Regions from separate parts of the Homo sapiens genome. Here regions 2 and 3 are each linked to region 1. Evidence: promoter capture Hi-C in 16 types of primary human blood cells and fetal thymus (Javierre and others, 2016). All regions are on one chromosome and are shown on one strand. Each heading gives the region's core, a stretch centred on a gene start or on the middle of the fragment in contact. The rest is flanking DNA. Distances are from core to core; before and after follow the strand shown.

Region 1 (5,028 bases), core at 1,686-4,185:
AGGTTACAGTGAGCTACAATCATGCCACTGCACTCCAGCCTGGGTGACAGAATAAGACCCTGTCTCAAAAAAAAAAGAAAAAAGGCAAATTATGTGATTAGAACGTATTAAAAAATTTCAACATTAAAGTTTCAATAGTTGCAATAGTATTATTGAATAATAGTACATATACATAGGTTTTAAGCACAAAATTCTGCATACTTATCATAGATGATGTACAACAGGAAATTTCATTCATAAATTTCATTAATTAAGAATATGTGATACTGAAATTGCAAATATCCAATCTGTTTCCTGCTAGTGAGTAATGTTGGGTAAATGAGTTTCTGGTTCTTTACTTATAGAGCAGGAGGAAAACAATACTTCCTAGACAATGAGCTATTAGTAGGGGCTCAACAAATGCCAGTTAAAGCTGAATTCAACTTAGGCAATACTGGCCACTGACAATCAGTATGTGTGTGTGTTTTGAGACAGAGTCTCACTCTGTCACCCAGGTTGTAGTGCAATGGTGTGATCTTGACTCACTGCAACCTCCGCCTCCCAAGTTCAAGCAATTCTCTTGCCTCCCAAGTAGCTGGGATTACAGGCACCTGTCATCACGCCCGGCTAATTTTTGTATTTTCAGTAGAGAAGGGGTTTCGCCATGTTGGCCAGGCTGGTCTCAAACTCCTGACCTCAGTGATCCACCCGCGTCGACCTCCCAACGTGTTGGGATTACAGACGTGAGTCACCGCGCCTGGCAGACAACCAATTTTAAAGCACTCTTTCTTTGAGCTCTTTTTCTTTAGTACCAGTACACACTGTGTAGATATTTTTGTTTTACTTACTAAACTGTAGGTTAGTAATCAATTTTAGTACCTACCAGACTGTAAGCTCCTTGAGGACAAGGAATTTGGACATTTCCCTTTTTTGAAGACCTAGCACAGGACCCTTATGAAAATAACCACCAAACAGTCTTATCACCAAGTTCTAGAACTAGAGTAGCATCTGTCCTATTAAAAACTACTGATGGCATAAATATAAACCTAAACTTACTCCATTAGAGCACTGACAGATTTGAAATCAACAATCAGTATTTCATACAATTTTAAAACTTTAATACTTTTTTATCTCCAATGCAATATAAAAATAGTACTCACTTTGGATAGGAAATCAACTAGAACTAGACTGTTGACATCCAGCAACAAAGCATAGCCCAACATAAGAAATACAGATTTGCAACACTTCGATATGTGCTTTGAACATTGATATGCCAAGTAGCAATAGAAATAATTATCTCTTTGGATGGAAAATGTTAATGACTAATCATTTCTTAAACTAGACTGGATACTTTTCCATATAGGGACTATGCTATTCCACGTTCTCCAACATGGATCCATCCATTTACTTCTTGCCTTCCAAGGTACCACCCTATCCCAATCCACCATCACTCCTTGCCTGGAGTATTTCAATAGCTTTTTTTTTTTTTTTTTTGAGACAGAGTCTCGCTCTGTCGCCCAGGCTGGAGTGCAGCGGAGCGATCTCGGCTCACTGCAAGCCCCGCCACCCGGGTTCACGCCAGCCTCCTGCCTCAGCCTCCCAAGTAGCTGGACTACAGGCGCCCGCCACCACGCCCAGCTAATTTTTTGTATTTTTAGTAGAGACAGGGTTTCACCGTGTTAGCCAGGATGGTCTCGATCTCCTGGCCTCGTGATCCGCCCGCCTCGGCCTCCCAAAGTGGTGGGATTACAGGAGTGAGCCACCGCCTCCGGCCTTCAATAGCTTAACAGGTCACCAAGCTTCCACACTATTCCCACACAGCCTCTCCCCTCTTGCCACCGGCTGTGACCTCAGACTGAAATGCTCTTCCCTGGCCCCTCCTTATCCTTCAAATCTTGGCTTAAAAGCCTTTTCTCAGTTTCATTGACCAGGCTATCTAACATTTACGATTCCCCCAGCATATCATCCATTTTATTCTTCTTTACGGACTCATTTCTGGCTCGTAGTAAATGTTCAATAACGGTTAAGTGAACTGAATCTCTAATTTCTGGTCGTTAATTTGTAGAGACCACTTTCCCGGATTTAAAAAGTGCAGGTGCTCTGGCAGCCTTAAGTCGGTGAAAACAAGAATATTCCGCAAAACAAAAATAACTTGTTTATTCATCAAAAACAGTTAACGTTACACTTCTATACCGTCAATTCGTGTGTGAACAGAGTTGTGTCTGATCCAAGACCTTACAGTTCAAGCACTGGATCCCAATAACCTGTAAACAACGTTTTGTTATTTGCAATGCAATCCTGGGCTAACTTTTCAAAAGTCGTTTTTCTCAATTTCCCGTTAGTTAAAGGAATAAAAAAATGCTGTCCAACGTGGTCAATGGACCAAACAAACAAGGACAACAAACAGAAGCGTGAGCCATTGCTAACACAACAGCGACCAAACAATCATGCACTGTATCAGGCGTGTAAAAATCTGGGGGGAAAGGCTTAGTCTTAAGGCCTAAGTCATCGGACACTGGTCCTCTCCCGGGGAATAAAACGGCCTCCTCCTCTGAGAGGGAAATGTCCTGAATTTTCCCTGCAGAGGGAAGGTCACCTGCAAGCCTACATTCGTGACAGCGTTCCCGAGGACCCCCTGATCCTCATCTTCTTTTCTGCTTCATCAGACCAGAGACCGTGGCTAAAAGCCCCCCATCTGCCGGCTCTCAGGGGCTTCCGAGGCGGCGGGGCGGGAGGCGGCGCCCAGTCAAGGACAACAGAAGACTACGTCGCGTGGGCCAAAGGAAACAGTCCCGTCAATAAATAAGCCTCTGGCCGACGCACCTCACCCTTCCCATCCATACAAGACCTCACCTTCTCCCCGGAGCCGCGGAGGCTGTTCTGCTAAACTGTCTGGACCACGACGACCCCCTAGGAGGCCGGGTCGCTTATTCAATATGGCGGCCTCGGCTAACTCTGTCAGCCGGGCCTGGAGAACGGAAAGCCCGGAGGGACTAGAATCCTTGCATTCGACAAGTTTGTCGGCAATTTCCGTCAGCCGACCAGAGGGCGGAGCTGAGGTCGGCCCAGCCCGGAGGCGGGAAGGACAACTTGGACCCGCAGTTCCGCCGGAAGTGGCCCCAGCCTCGAGGCCGGGCGTCTTCGGTCATCTCCGGCGCTTCTAGGGCTGGTTCCCGTCATCTTCGGGAGCCGTGGAGGTACGAACTTAAGACATGCCTATTTTATTAATTTACTTCCAAACGCAACGAAAGGTCCATGGACAATTTGTGGGCCATTTAATTCAGGGCCCCCAATTCGTACGTGGAGAAGTGGGAATGCAAAAGTACTTTGACCTTTAACCTTCGGTCCGGCGCGGTGGAGGGAAACGCCTCCGTCTCTATATAAGGAATTTTCCGGTCTCTTCGGGTCCTTTTTCCTCTCTTCAGCGTGGGGCGCCCACAATTTGCGCGCTCTCTTTCTGCTGCTCCCCAGCTCTCGGATACAGCCGACACCATGGGTTTCGGAGACCTGAAAAGCCCTGCCGGCCTCCAGGTGCTCAACGATTACCTGGCGGACAAGAGCTACATCGAGGGGTGAGCGGACGGGCTGAGTCGGGGTGGCGGGGAGGTTTCTCCGCCCGGGGCCGGGGCCACGTGGCGCAGCGTGTCGGCTGCCGCGGGAGGGAGGGAGGCCGGGCCCGGGGCCCTTTCGAGAGGGAGGGGAAAGCGCCCCGTTGCCGTCTCCCAAGGCCCTCGTGTGGGGCGAGCCCGGCCTCCGGGGAGCGGTTCACGAGCAAGGAAAGGTTAAAATGTGCTTTATTTACACTTAATTCAGCCAGGTGTTTCCGCATCGCTGCCCAGTTAATACATGTTAAGCTGTAGATAGAGCAACGCCAGACATTGCAGTATTTGAGGTCTACTTAGTGGCAGACATTTCTCAGGATAGCGCGGTGACCCAAACATATGGTTTGATTTGAAGGAGCTAATAAGAAAAGAAAAGCATTAAAGCAACCCTGCTGGGGTTAGTGCCCACTAATTAATGTGATGCATACGGTATTTATTATTTATTCGCTGGCGTTTGTTTTTCAAAGGTGTGTGTGAATGTTTCTGTGTCCTTGGCAGGTATGTGCCATCACAAGCAGATGTGGCAGTATTTGAAGCCGTGTCCAGCCCACCGCCTGCCGACTTGTGTCATGCCCTACGTTGGTATAATCACATCAAGTCTTACGAAAAGGAAAAGGCCAGGTAAAATCATCTTTGTATAGAGCTGAAGAATAAGACTGCTCTCGAAGTTTATCAGGATGTTCACATGACAAAACTGGACCCAGGCTACTTTAGTTTTGTTGGGATATTGTAAGCTAAATTTTTCTGTAACCTTAGAAGGCCAAGAGACTGAAGCCCTCCATTTTTTCACAGAACAGGTAGAACATGGACAGCAGCAATTCAACTTTTCCCCACACTGCCCTGCCAATGTGCCTCGACCTTGACCTGGGGGGCCCACCTCTGGGGTGAGAGGGTGGCTCATTCATTCAGTCCTTGGCCATTCTTCTGAAACTGCCAACAAGGGTGGAAGTTTGGGGAAGTGGACTCCAGTTCACTAAGAATGGAACTGAGCATACTTAATGAAATCTCAAACAGAAATGTTCATACTGAAAGAGTAAATCATAGTGAGTATTGAAAATAATGTCTCACATGGTACTAATGCTTGTCGGGTGAGGAGTTGAACATATGACAGTGTTTACCTGGGCGCATGTGAAAGGGTAAATTATGATTGCAAAAGGGATCTAGTGATAAGTAGTGATTAAAACAAGTTATTTTGTATTTTCTGGAAAAGGATGTTATACTAGCTCAATAGTGGTTGAATTTAAATGTTTTTCAAGCCTGCCAGGAGTGAAGAAAGCTTTGGGCAAATATGGTCCTGCCGATGTGGAAGACACTACAGGAAGTGGAGCTACAGATAGTAAAGATGATGATGACATTGACCTCTTTGGATCTGATGATGAGGAGGTATGGCGTCTTCTATAAAGAACATATCGGCCAGGCGCAGTGGCTCATGCCTGTAATCCCAGCA
Region 2 (5,028 bases), core at 765-3,264, about 54 Mb before region 1:
AACTTTTCGAAGTTCTAAAGACAACTTAGAGATTAGCAACTGAAAAAGTTAATGGGGGGAGGAGGAGGGAGGGAAAAATGATGTCAATCTCTTCTTTAAGAGATTCCTTCAGGGTTTTAACTTGCCTGGCTCTGGCATATACCAGTTGCATGGCCTGGGGAAAAAAAATCATTCCACTTAAGCCTCAGTTTTCCCTTTTCAGGGGAAATAACTACTTCAAAAGATTGTTAAAACATAAAATAAAATAAAATAAAATGATTTAAATGACAGCATCTAGGATAAAGTTTGTACTCTACTGAATCTCAGTATCAACTAAATGTGACCTCTGGTTTTTCTAGTTCGAGCGGTATACAAATAGCTTTCACTGTGCACTCAATCTGAGCTTTAACTGAAAAAGCTGTTCTCGAGGGGTTTCAGAAACAGGAGATACTGCATAGTTTAAGTTTCATCAGATGGCAAATTCTGTAATCTCCCGAAACATACTTTCCAAGAGTTTCTATGAAAAGAAAGTAAGATTGCATTCTGAATCCACTGAAGGTAAAACAAGAGCATCCAACACATATCTAACTTATATATGTCCTATACAGAAAAAAAAAAAAACAACCCTGCTGGGCACCATGGCTCAGGCCTGTAATCCCAGCACTTTGGGAGCCCAAGGCGGGTGGATCACGAAGTCAAGAGATGGTGACCATTCTGGCCAACGTGGTGAAACCCCATCTCTACAAAAAATACAAAAATTAGCTGGGTGTGGTGGCACGCACCTGTAGTCCAGCCACTCGGGAGGCTGAGGCAGGAGAATCGCTTGAACCCAGGAGGCACAGGTTGCAGTGGGCCAAGATCACACCACTGCACTCCAGCCTGGTGACAGAGCAAGACTCCATCTCAAAAAAACAAAAACAAAAACAAAACCCAACAAATATCTGGCATTAGATTAAATGGTGGATATTCGGAAAAGTGACCCTATTGATAAGACAGCCACACTGTTTAGCAGAAAATAAATAATTTATTCACACTTTCACAATATTCATATCTAATTTTCTAGAACTTAACTTCATTAATTTCTCTATTAATTTCCGCCAAACTGCCATAAATGTCCCGTCAAAAATTACCACAAAATACAGGTTATAAAAACACTACTATTAGCAATTTGTAGTGATACCAGAGCACACACCCTTATTATTTACTACTCCAAGGAGCTGTTGGCAAAGTTCTCATTTATTCTTAACTTACAGAAACAAATAATTTTATCATTGACTCAAAATAGAAAGTGGTGATAACTCTTTTTCTGGCAGCACTAGAGCTCAATTCACAGTCTTGCTAAACCTCACAGCAGATGAAACACTAGCTTTGCTAAAAATAATACAAAATGATGGATGTTAAAACTAGAATAGATCTTATCTACTATAAGTACCATCAGTCTTACAGCAATGTACGTTTTAATATTTGCAATGTAGAAATAAAGTTTACAAGATTTGGAAGCTCCACAGATCCCTGGTGTTCTAGGTGAGAAAACCTAGACCAGAAAACCTGAGAGTTCAAGTGACTGCTTCCCACTCTCCTGCTCCCAACACTAACAGCCAGTCCAGTCAGAGACAGTGCTGATTAGAACTGATTTTCTCTACTTTATGAAAAATCCTCTTATCAGAAAAATTGATACTGCCCTTTCTTTCGGTATCACGTGACCTACACATCTGTGTGTGTGTGTGTGTGCGTAAAAGATACATTAGGGATCACAAGTTCTAGTTCTGCTTGCTTCCCCTAAGCTTCTTAAAAGAGCAGCTAGATCATGAAGGAGGAGGTGGTAGTAGTAGGTGTACATAATAGATGCCACCATTCACGTAAGTCTTTATTGGAAAACTGGGACGTGACACCATCAGCTTACACAACAGAAAAACACAAACTAAGTTCCTGACAGCGGAATGATGAACCACCCAACTTGAGTTAAAAAGAAACAAAAGTACACCACTGTATCTTAATAAGTATCCAGTCTTTGGGTTAAAATTGTATTCTCTTTCCCCAGTTTTAGTCATTTTGTAACAAATTTTAACAAGCCTGATAGGTATTTCATGGCCATGTCTGAAGTTGGCTGAACTTAAGCATCCCTATATAACACACTTTACACTTAGTAACTTGCTAGTTACCTATGGTTAACAAATGTTTCATATGGTATGTTTTTAAAACTTTCAGTGAAACACTTTAACATTTTTAACCCAGCAAAACAAACAAAAACTGTGTCTAATAACCCACACGAGTAGAAAAATGACCTTAAGCTTAACCTTAAACACAGATATAATAAGTAAAACAAATGGAGAGAAGTCCATCTCTATTCAGGAGGCAGAAGAACCCCCCCTGCCCCCAACACACACAAAGACGGGTGGCAGTGGAGGGCAGGCTCATAAACCAGAGGTGTAATGGACAAGTCGAGCGATTCCTCCCGTTTTCCGCATTCTGCAACCCTCGGTCGCTCAGTGGTGCGGTTAGGGCAGCAATCTATAACCTTCATTCCAGAAGACCCCAGCACTTCTATGTGGTGTCCAAACACAACTGGTGAGCAAAGAAAGGGCTGAAAGACAGGCCAGGCCGTGCTACTCAGGGACGTCGGACCTAGGGCAAGAAACCTTTACCACTCTCATTCGAAATCGGAGCAATGGGTCTATTACGGAAAAGACTTCTTAGGAAGGTCTCCTAAGACAAAGGGCTGCGAGTCAGGAACCATCCCCAAGCTCGGGAGCCGGGACCGAACCGTCCCGGGCCCGTATCCGCGCAGCCTGCACCCCGCGCTGAGCTGGCGCCCGACCGAGCCGCCCACATTCCGAAGTATTCGGAGACCCCCACCTAGCCGGCCCGAGCTGACCCTCTCCCCAACCCGTACGCCCGCGGACCGAGCTCCTCACCCTGGTGATTGAACAGTCTCCATATTCTAGTGAAGAGAATTCCCATTCTCGGGCAGCGGACCCCCCCCCTCCAGACACCCGGGCCGCCTGGCTTCCCCCGGCTCAGGCTGAGGGGGAGGAGAGAGACGCGCTGGAGCCTCCGCCTCTGCTGCTGCTCCCGCGCTGGTCGCGGGCCCGCTTCCAGGGAACCGGAGGGAGGCCGAAGCCCAGGCCGCCCTGCCGCGCGCAAGGCCCCGCCGCTGCCGCCGCGGCACTCGCCTGGCTCGCGGACATCGCCGCCGCGTTGTCTGCGACGAGCCTCGCGGGCCACCGTCCTCCCCCAGCTCCTCTCGGGCGGCTGCGGTGGCGACGACCACGCGGGCGGGGGAAGTGAAGGGGCGGGCCTGGAGGGACGTGAGTGCGCAGGCGCGCGGCCAGAGGGGCGGAGCGTAGGAAAGGGCGCCCGCCCTGTCCTCGCTTATTTGCATAACCAAGACTGCGGAAGGCGCAGGACTTTACCCTGGGACTGAGGCTGTGAAGACCGCAAGTTGGGGCAGATGGCTTCCGACTGCTTGCTGTTGCGTCCCCGAGTATTTATATTTCCCTCGAATCTTCTCCACTGCGCCATAATGTAAACATATAATTGAGTACCCCATGTCCATCCCCAACCCTTCACATACACTACACTTAAAGTTCCACGTCATGACTCTTTAAGACATTGTGTCCCCTGTGGGTCTTTGAGGGAAAAGTCTGCTGCCCTCTGACACTCAGCTGAAGTCAGTGGCCTTACCTAGATAGTCACCTTAAAGCCATTTTTGCACTTCAGGGCTCTTTTCTCTCCAATCTCTTAACTCTCACGTCAGTATTGCCCAAAACAACGATTTTGATCAAGTCACTACCCTGTTTAAAAACCTTTAGTGGCCACCAAAGCTCCATCCCTTTCTGTTCTCGTTAACCTTAGTAAAAAGGAAAATAAAGAAAAATTGGGAGACTTGTAGGAGCCATTTGAACTGCTTTGCACTCCCATCCCCAACAGCTGAATGAAATTAAGCAAAATCAGCAATAAACCGCACCTTCCCAACTCACTTCTCCTAACTACCCAGTATTTTACCTCAAAATATAGAAAAGTAATTTCGTTGACTTCTTTTGGGGCTTTATGGTTAAAAAGCCAAAGTTTAGAGGAGCCATACATGAAGGGAAGGAAAATCATAGTAATCCATATTAATTTATGTATTATCATGTCTGGATTTACTTAATATTCTGTACACTGTTTAGAAGAACAATGTAGTTTGTATAACCAATTTGCATTAACTCTGTAATATTTCCATTCTCGCACACCGTAGGTAATGCTTTGGTAGCTCTAAGACTTTTTCAGACTCCCACACAGATGTCAACTTATGAAATGGATGTCATATACACATTATGTGATGGCGGAGCTTCATATTTTACAATCTACCCAAGGAAATGGTCTCCCAGGTTATTTTCCGAGTGAAGAAAGAAGAGAGAGAGAGAGACAGAGACAGAGAGTTTAAAGACCAATTTATCTATGATTACAGAGAAATGCAAAATGTCATTGGAGAGACTTCTGACTTCAGGCATGAGAGAGTAGGATGGTTTGAATATATCCTCCTACCATTAGCAAATAGAAAACTGCACAAAGTACAGGCAACGACATTTCAGATATTGAAAAACACATCACAGTACTGTGATTCTTTGCAAAAGAGAAAGGAACAGGTGGAGTCTTACCATTTCCTGGACTTTATCCCTAAAAGCAATTCCCAGTCAACTACGGAGGAAGTGGGAACCCAAATGAGAATCTGGAAACCTCTTAGAACTGAAGACGCATATCAGCATTCCCAGAGATCAAGGTGACTAGAATTTGTGAAGCAGAGTAACTGGAAGGAGGGAGCTACACAGAGAAAAGCTCTGGAAACCTGTTAAGGGGCCATTGAGTCTTTGGCTGCATATCAATTTGTGCTCGTGCAGTATGAACCCCCAAGAGGCTGGTCAGTCACAATTCCTGAGGAAAAATAAGTACCAGGAAACTGTAATGCAAATGATTCCCAGAGATTACAACGGGTCAGGAATCATTTGAGTTCCCTTCAGCCAGAGTGAAGAGAACTGAATATATAGGACAGGGGTGTCCAATCTTTTA
Region 3 (5,028 bases), core at 1,038-3,537, about 37 Mb before region 1:
AAATAAAGAGATTTTTAGAAAATTAAAATGTAAACTATATAATCATTCCATAAAATATAAAAGTAAATTACTTACTGTTGTGTGACGTATAACACATTCACCAGGGTATCGTCATTCATTAATTTGAATTTATTTGTAGCTAAATTATGAAGAGTAAGAAATTGAGGATGGTCTCTGACATACTCAGCATTTTTTAACAGGCTGGTCTTCTGCTTTTGAAGCTTCCAAAGCATATCAAATGCACATCCCACTTGCTTTTCTGAAAGTATGGCTTTGTTTCTTTCAATAAAACCAAACATTTGCTCCTCATCTGTACACTTATTCATCTGAATAATTAGTGGTTCACAACTGATGGGTCGAAATTGAAACACTCTCCAGGAGAATGGACAAATAGCTCTTAGACGAAGCATATTTGTAACCAATGACTCTAGGAAAACAGGTGTTTTTTTCATTTATATCACAAGTTTTCTTAGGTAAACAAAACCATCTGCAACTAGTCGTCAGGTGCAATAAGCAGGGATACAAATAACAGTTTTTCCTTCATGTATTTTGCTTCCATTACAATGACTGTAAACGCATTCCAATGTACAGCTTCTATAAAAGAATTGGTTTAACATGGTTATGCTTACATCATTAATATCAAAATGATTCCAAAATTCAAATTAAAGTAATACATTTTTTCTGCATTAACTAAAGACTTTTTCTTAGTCTAAACCAGATAGCAGAATTTGATCAAAAAATAAATGTCCAGAAAAAGGGGCTTCTTTCTGCACCCCATTTTAAAAGTGTTTTAAATCTGACATTTACATAAAGTTTTCAAATTTACCATAAAAGGAAAAAAAAAGCCCACAAACTCAGAGCTGTCTTTTCGAAAAAGAGGAAAATTGTTTAAAATAAATAATCACCTTCAAAGTTTCTAAAAAGTGTAGGCATTAATTCAGAGCCATATATATTTATACATACATATATATATACTTTTTTTTTTTAATTTTTCAGAAGTATGGTCTCAGGTTTATTTGCTTTCAGGATAATTTCTTGCCCCTTTTTCTTGTGCCCTTAAAGAGCTCAAATAATTCCTTTCTTTAGAAAATAAATAAATAAAAGAAGTCATATAATTTAATCATTACTGGCCTTGGATAGGTTTTAACCAATGAACGACACAATTAAAGCACCAATCAAGAAATACTAAGAAATTAAGTAATGTTTCAAGTCATGCTGAAACAATAAAAGAACTAAAGATAATTATGAAAAAAGAATAATTTGTTTTAAAAATATGCTATAAATGTTTACATTTATAATTGAGAAGTAATGGTTAGAAAAGCAGGGACTAAAGTCATATAATCTAATATTTCTGCAACATGTTACCATTTACAAAGAACGTTTGAAACACATTATCTCATTAAATTCTCTCAGCTAACCTTCCAGGTTGATATTATTTCCATTTTACAGATAAGGCAAAATAGGTTCAAAAAGGTTTAAAAAATCCTTCTAGTACTAGTGAAGCAGGGACTACAACTCAGTTCTTTCCACTTGAACAGCTTCATTACACAAACAAATCAACGCTGTATCACTAAATTCATGTCTCAGACCCCTCTCTACGGCTATGCCAAACAGTCTGTTCACAAGAAAAAACGACGCGACAGTACAGGCTATTTTGTGGCAAGCAGTACAGCATCCTGACCTAAGCTGACCTGGGTCACAAACCTGCACAAGAAAACCCTGCACAAATCAAAGGTATCCTCAAGATACTATATTCATCCACTGAGCTGCTCAAAGTGGAGGCAGCTCAATGGTTAGCATAGAAAGGTGTCGAGTCCCCAGCTTTGCCCCAGCTGAATGACCTTAAGGAAGGAACTTAACTACAGGAAGGGCCTTGGGACCCTAAGGGGTATCTTCTGCGCCGGGCATAAAGGAGAGCTAAACAAATGAGTGAATGAATGGGGTCTCAGCCCTGCCCTAGTCCATCCGCACTTCAGAGAACCCAATATCCCGAAGGAAGCCTCCGTATCTCAACTGAACCCTATGTCCCCAGCCCGAAAACGTGCTGGGTGGGAAAAGAAAAATAGCCGCTGCCACACAGTCCCGACTTGCCAGCAAGGTTTTCCCTCAGCGCGCCGCAAATTTTCTGGAGGATCCTGGGGTTATGAAAGCTCAGAAGTCAGGGTTATTCCTGGTCCCAACACGGAACGAAACAGGCTCGGATGTCTCGCCCAACCCTCATATCTCAGGGTTTATAACCTTTCTTCGAGAGACATGACCTTTCCCATGAGACCTTGCCCCCAAACCAGGAAAAAATGCCCGGCAGGCGCAGCGTGCACTGCGGAAGTCACGCACTACATATCCCAGGGTGGGTCGCGGCGAGGTGGGTGAAATGGACGTCGCTCACGCATTTTGGGGGAATTCTGGGCATTGTAGTTCCTCATTGAGGGAGGCTCTAGCGCAGTACACAGCTTAAGCTGTTGAAGAAGATATAGGTCGTTTAGGTGATTCTCTACTATCTAAGGTTGTTCTCCTAGTCCTTGGAAGTCTACTACTTTTATAATATACACAAAAATATACTTAGGAAAATGAAATTTAAAAATGTAAACATGGAAAAGACACGTACAGATTTTTCTTATTATTTTTTAGCATATACGAAATAACTCTGTCGAGTAACTTTGAAAGTATGCAAACTCATACTCTCAGTTTCTGCACTTATGTCGTGGATAGGTACCAGTTCTCAGACCATATTTTTTTTTTACTTACCATGGTATTTTAATAGTCCCAAGATTTGACACTTGACACTTAAAAAAAAAATACCACTAATAAATAACCAAAGTGGAATGCTTACCAAAGTTACAACAGACATAATTTTCAGCTGATAATCACTACAACAAAGTAAGGCTCTAAAGGTACCAAACTGATATTTGTTGGAATATGCTGTGCAACTTTCTTTTTTTTATTTTATTTATTTATTTTTTTTATTGATCATTCTTGGGTGTTTCTCGCAGAGGGGGATTTGGCAGGGTCGTAGGACAATAGTGGAGGGAAGGTCAGCAGATAAACAAGTGAACAAAGGTCTCTGGTTTTCCTAGGCAGAGGACCCTGCGGCCTTCTGCAGTGTTTGTGTCCCTGAGTACTTGAGATTAGGGAGTGGTGATGACTCTTAAGGAGCATGCTGCCTTCAACCATCTGTTTAACAAAGCACATCTTGCACCGCCCTTAATCCATTTAACCCTGAGTGGACACAGCACATGTTTCAGAGAGCACAGGGTTGGGGGTAAGGTCATAGATCAACAGGATAAGAATTTTTCTTAGTACAGAACAAAATGAAAAGTCTCCCATGTCTACTTCTTTCTACACAGACACAGCAACTTTCCGATTTCTCAATCTTTTCCCCACCTTTCCCCCTTTTCTATTCCATAAAACCGCCATTGTCATCATGGCCCGTTCTCAATGAGCTGTTGGGTACACCTCCCAGACGGGGTGGTGGCCGGGCAGAGGGGCTCCTCACTTCCCAGTAGGGGTGGCCGGGCAGAGGCGCCCCTCACCTCCCGGACAGGGCGGCTGGCGGGGCGGGGGGCTGACCCCCCCACCTCCCTCCCGGACGGGGCGGCTGGCCGGGCGGGGGGCTGACCCCCCCACCTCCCTCCCGGGCAGGTCGGCTGGCCGGGCGGGGGGCTGACCGCCCCCACCTCCCTCCCGGGCGGGGCGGCTGGCTGGGCGGGGAGCTGACCGCCCCCACCTCCCTCCCGGACGGGGCGGCTGGCCGGGCGGGGGGCTGACCCCCCCACCTCCCTCCCGGGCGGGGCGGCTGGCCTGGCGGGGGCTGACCCCCACCTCCCTCCCGGAGAGGGTGGCTGCCGGGTGGAGACGCTCCTCACTTCCCTGACGGGGCGGCTGCTGGGCGGAGGGGCTCCTCACTTCTCAGACGGGGCGGCTGCCGGGCGGAGGGTCTCCTCACTTCTCAGACGGGGCGGCCGGGCAGAGACGGTCCTCACTTCCCAGACGGGGTCGCGGCCGGGCAGAGGTGCTCCTCACATCCCAGACGGGGCGGTGGGGCAGAGGCGCTCCCCACATCTCAGACGATGGGCGGCTGGGCAGAGACGCTCCTCACTTCCTAGATGGGATGGCGGCCAGGCAGAGACGCTCCTCACTTCCCAAACGGGGTGGCGGCCGGGCAGAGGCTGCAATCTCGGCACTTTGGGAGGCCAAGGCAGGCGGCTGGGAGGTGGAGGTTGTAGCGAGCCGAGATCACGCCACTGCACTTCAGCCTGGGCACCATTGAGCACTGAGTGAACGAGACTCCGTCTGCAATCCCGGCACCTCGGGAGGCCAAGGCTGGCGGATCACTCGCGGTTAGGAGCTGGAGACCAGCCCCGCCAACACAGCAAAACCCCATCTCCACCAAAAAAATACGAAAACCAGTCAGGCGTGGCAGCGCGCAGGCACTTGGCAGGCTGAGGCAGGAGAATCAGGCAGGGAGGTTGCAGTGAGCCGAGATGGCAGCAGCACAGTCCAGCTTCGGCTCGGCATCAGAGGGAGACCGTGGAAAGAGAGGGAGAGGGAGACCGTGAGGGAGAGGGAGAGGGAGACCGTGGGGAGAGGGAGAGGGAGAGGGAGAGGGGGCAACTTTCTTATTGTGTGGGTTACAGAGGAGACTCTTGGTTTATGTGGTCATGGTTATTGTCATAAAACCAGTTTTAGCACAATTTTCTTTTCTTTTCTTTTTTGAGACAGGGTCTCACTCTGTCTCCCAGGTTGGAGTGCAGTAGTGCAATCTCCGCTCACTACAACCTCCGCCTCTTGGGTATAAGCGATTCTCCTGCCTCAACCTCCCGAGTAGCTGGGACTACAGGTGCACACCACCATAGCTGGCTAACTTTTTGTAGTTTTGGTAGCGACAGGGTTTCCCCACGTTGCCCAGGGTGGTCTCGAACTCCTGGGCCCAAGCAATCCACCCACCTCAGCCTCCCAAAGTGCTTGGGATTAGAGGCATGAACCACCTTGCCCAGCCTAAATTTTCAATAGTTCTGACAGTCTATGCAA

Evidence for each region. Contacts are between HindIII fragments. The CHiCAGO score rates a contact against its expected background, and 5 or more counts as called.
Region 2: a contact is called between a fragment that was not itself captured here and the fragment with the promoter of NDUFS1 in region 1, in 1 of 17 cell types (naive CD8 T cells). The highest score is 10.4, in naive CD8 T cells.
Region 3: a contact is called between the fragment with the promoter of FASTKD1 here and the fragment with the promoter of NDUFS1 in region 1, in 2 of 17 cell types (total CD8 T cells and total CD4 T cells). The highest score is 6.8, in total CD8 T cells.

Annotation. Positions count from the first base shown.
Region 1 is chr2:206,156,509-206,161,536 of GRCh38, forward strand. It overlaps NDUFS1 (NADH:ubiquinone oxidoreductase core subunit S1), which reads right to left and starts at 2,936. Exons shown (of 19, transcript NM_005006.7): 1 at 2,833-2,936. It overlaps EEF1B2 (eukaryotic translation elongation factor 1 beta 2), which reads left to right and starts at 3,387. Exons shown (of 6, transcript NM_001959.4): 1 at 3,387-3,551; 2 at 4,080-4,202; 3 at 4,838-4,964. The coding sequence starts at 3,472. RefSeq lists enhancers at 2,614-3,023, 3,134-3,393 and a silencer at 3,654-3,723. The HindIII fragment of the contact is 3,079 bases long and covers 1,777-4,855 here.
Region 2 is chr2:151,825,237-151,830,264 of GRCh38, forward strand. It overlaps ARL5A (ARF like GTPase 5A), which reads right to left and starts at 3,185. Exons shown (of 6, transcript NM_012097.4): 1 at 2,895-3,185. The coding sequence starts at 2,940. RefSeq lists silencers at 2,801-2,850, 2,901-3,410 and an enhancer at 3,461-3,510. The HindIII fragment of the contact is 507 bases long and covers 1,762-2,268 here.
Region 3 is chr2:169,571,578-169,576,605 of GRCh38, forward strand. FASTKD1 (FAST kinase domains 1) reads right to left here and starts at 2,288. Exons shown (of 15, transcript NM_024622.6): 1 at 2,092-2,288; 2 at 76-594. The coding sequence starts at 452. RefSeq lists enhancers at 1,870-2,039, 1,895-2,497, 2,400-2,499. The HindIII fragment of the contact is 12,279 bases long and covers 220-5,028 here.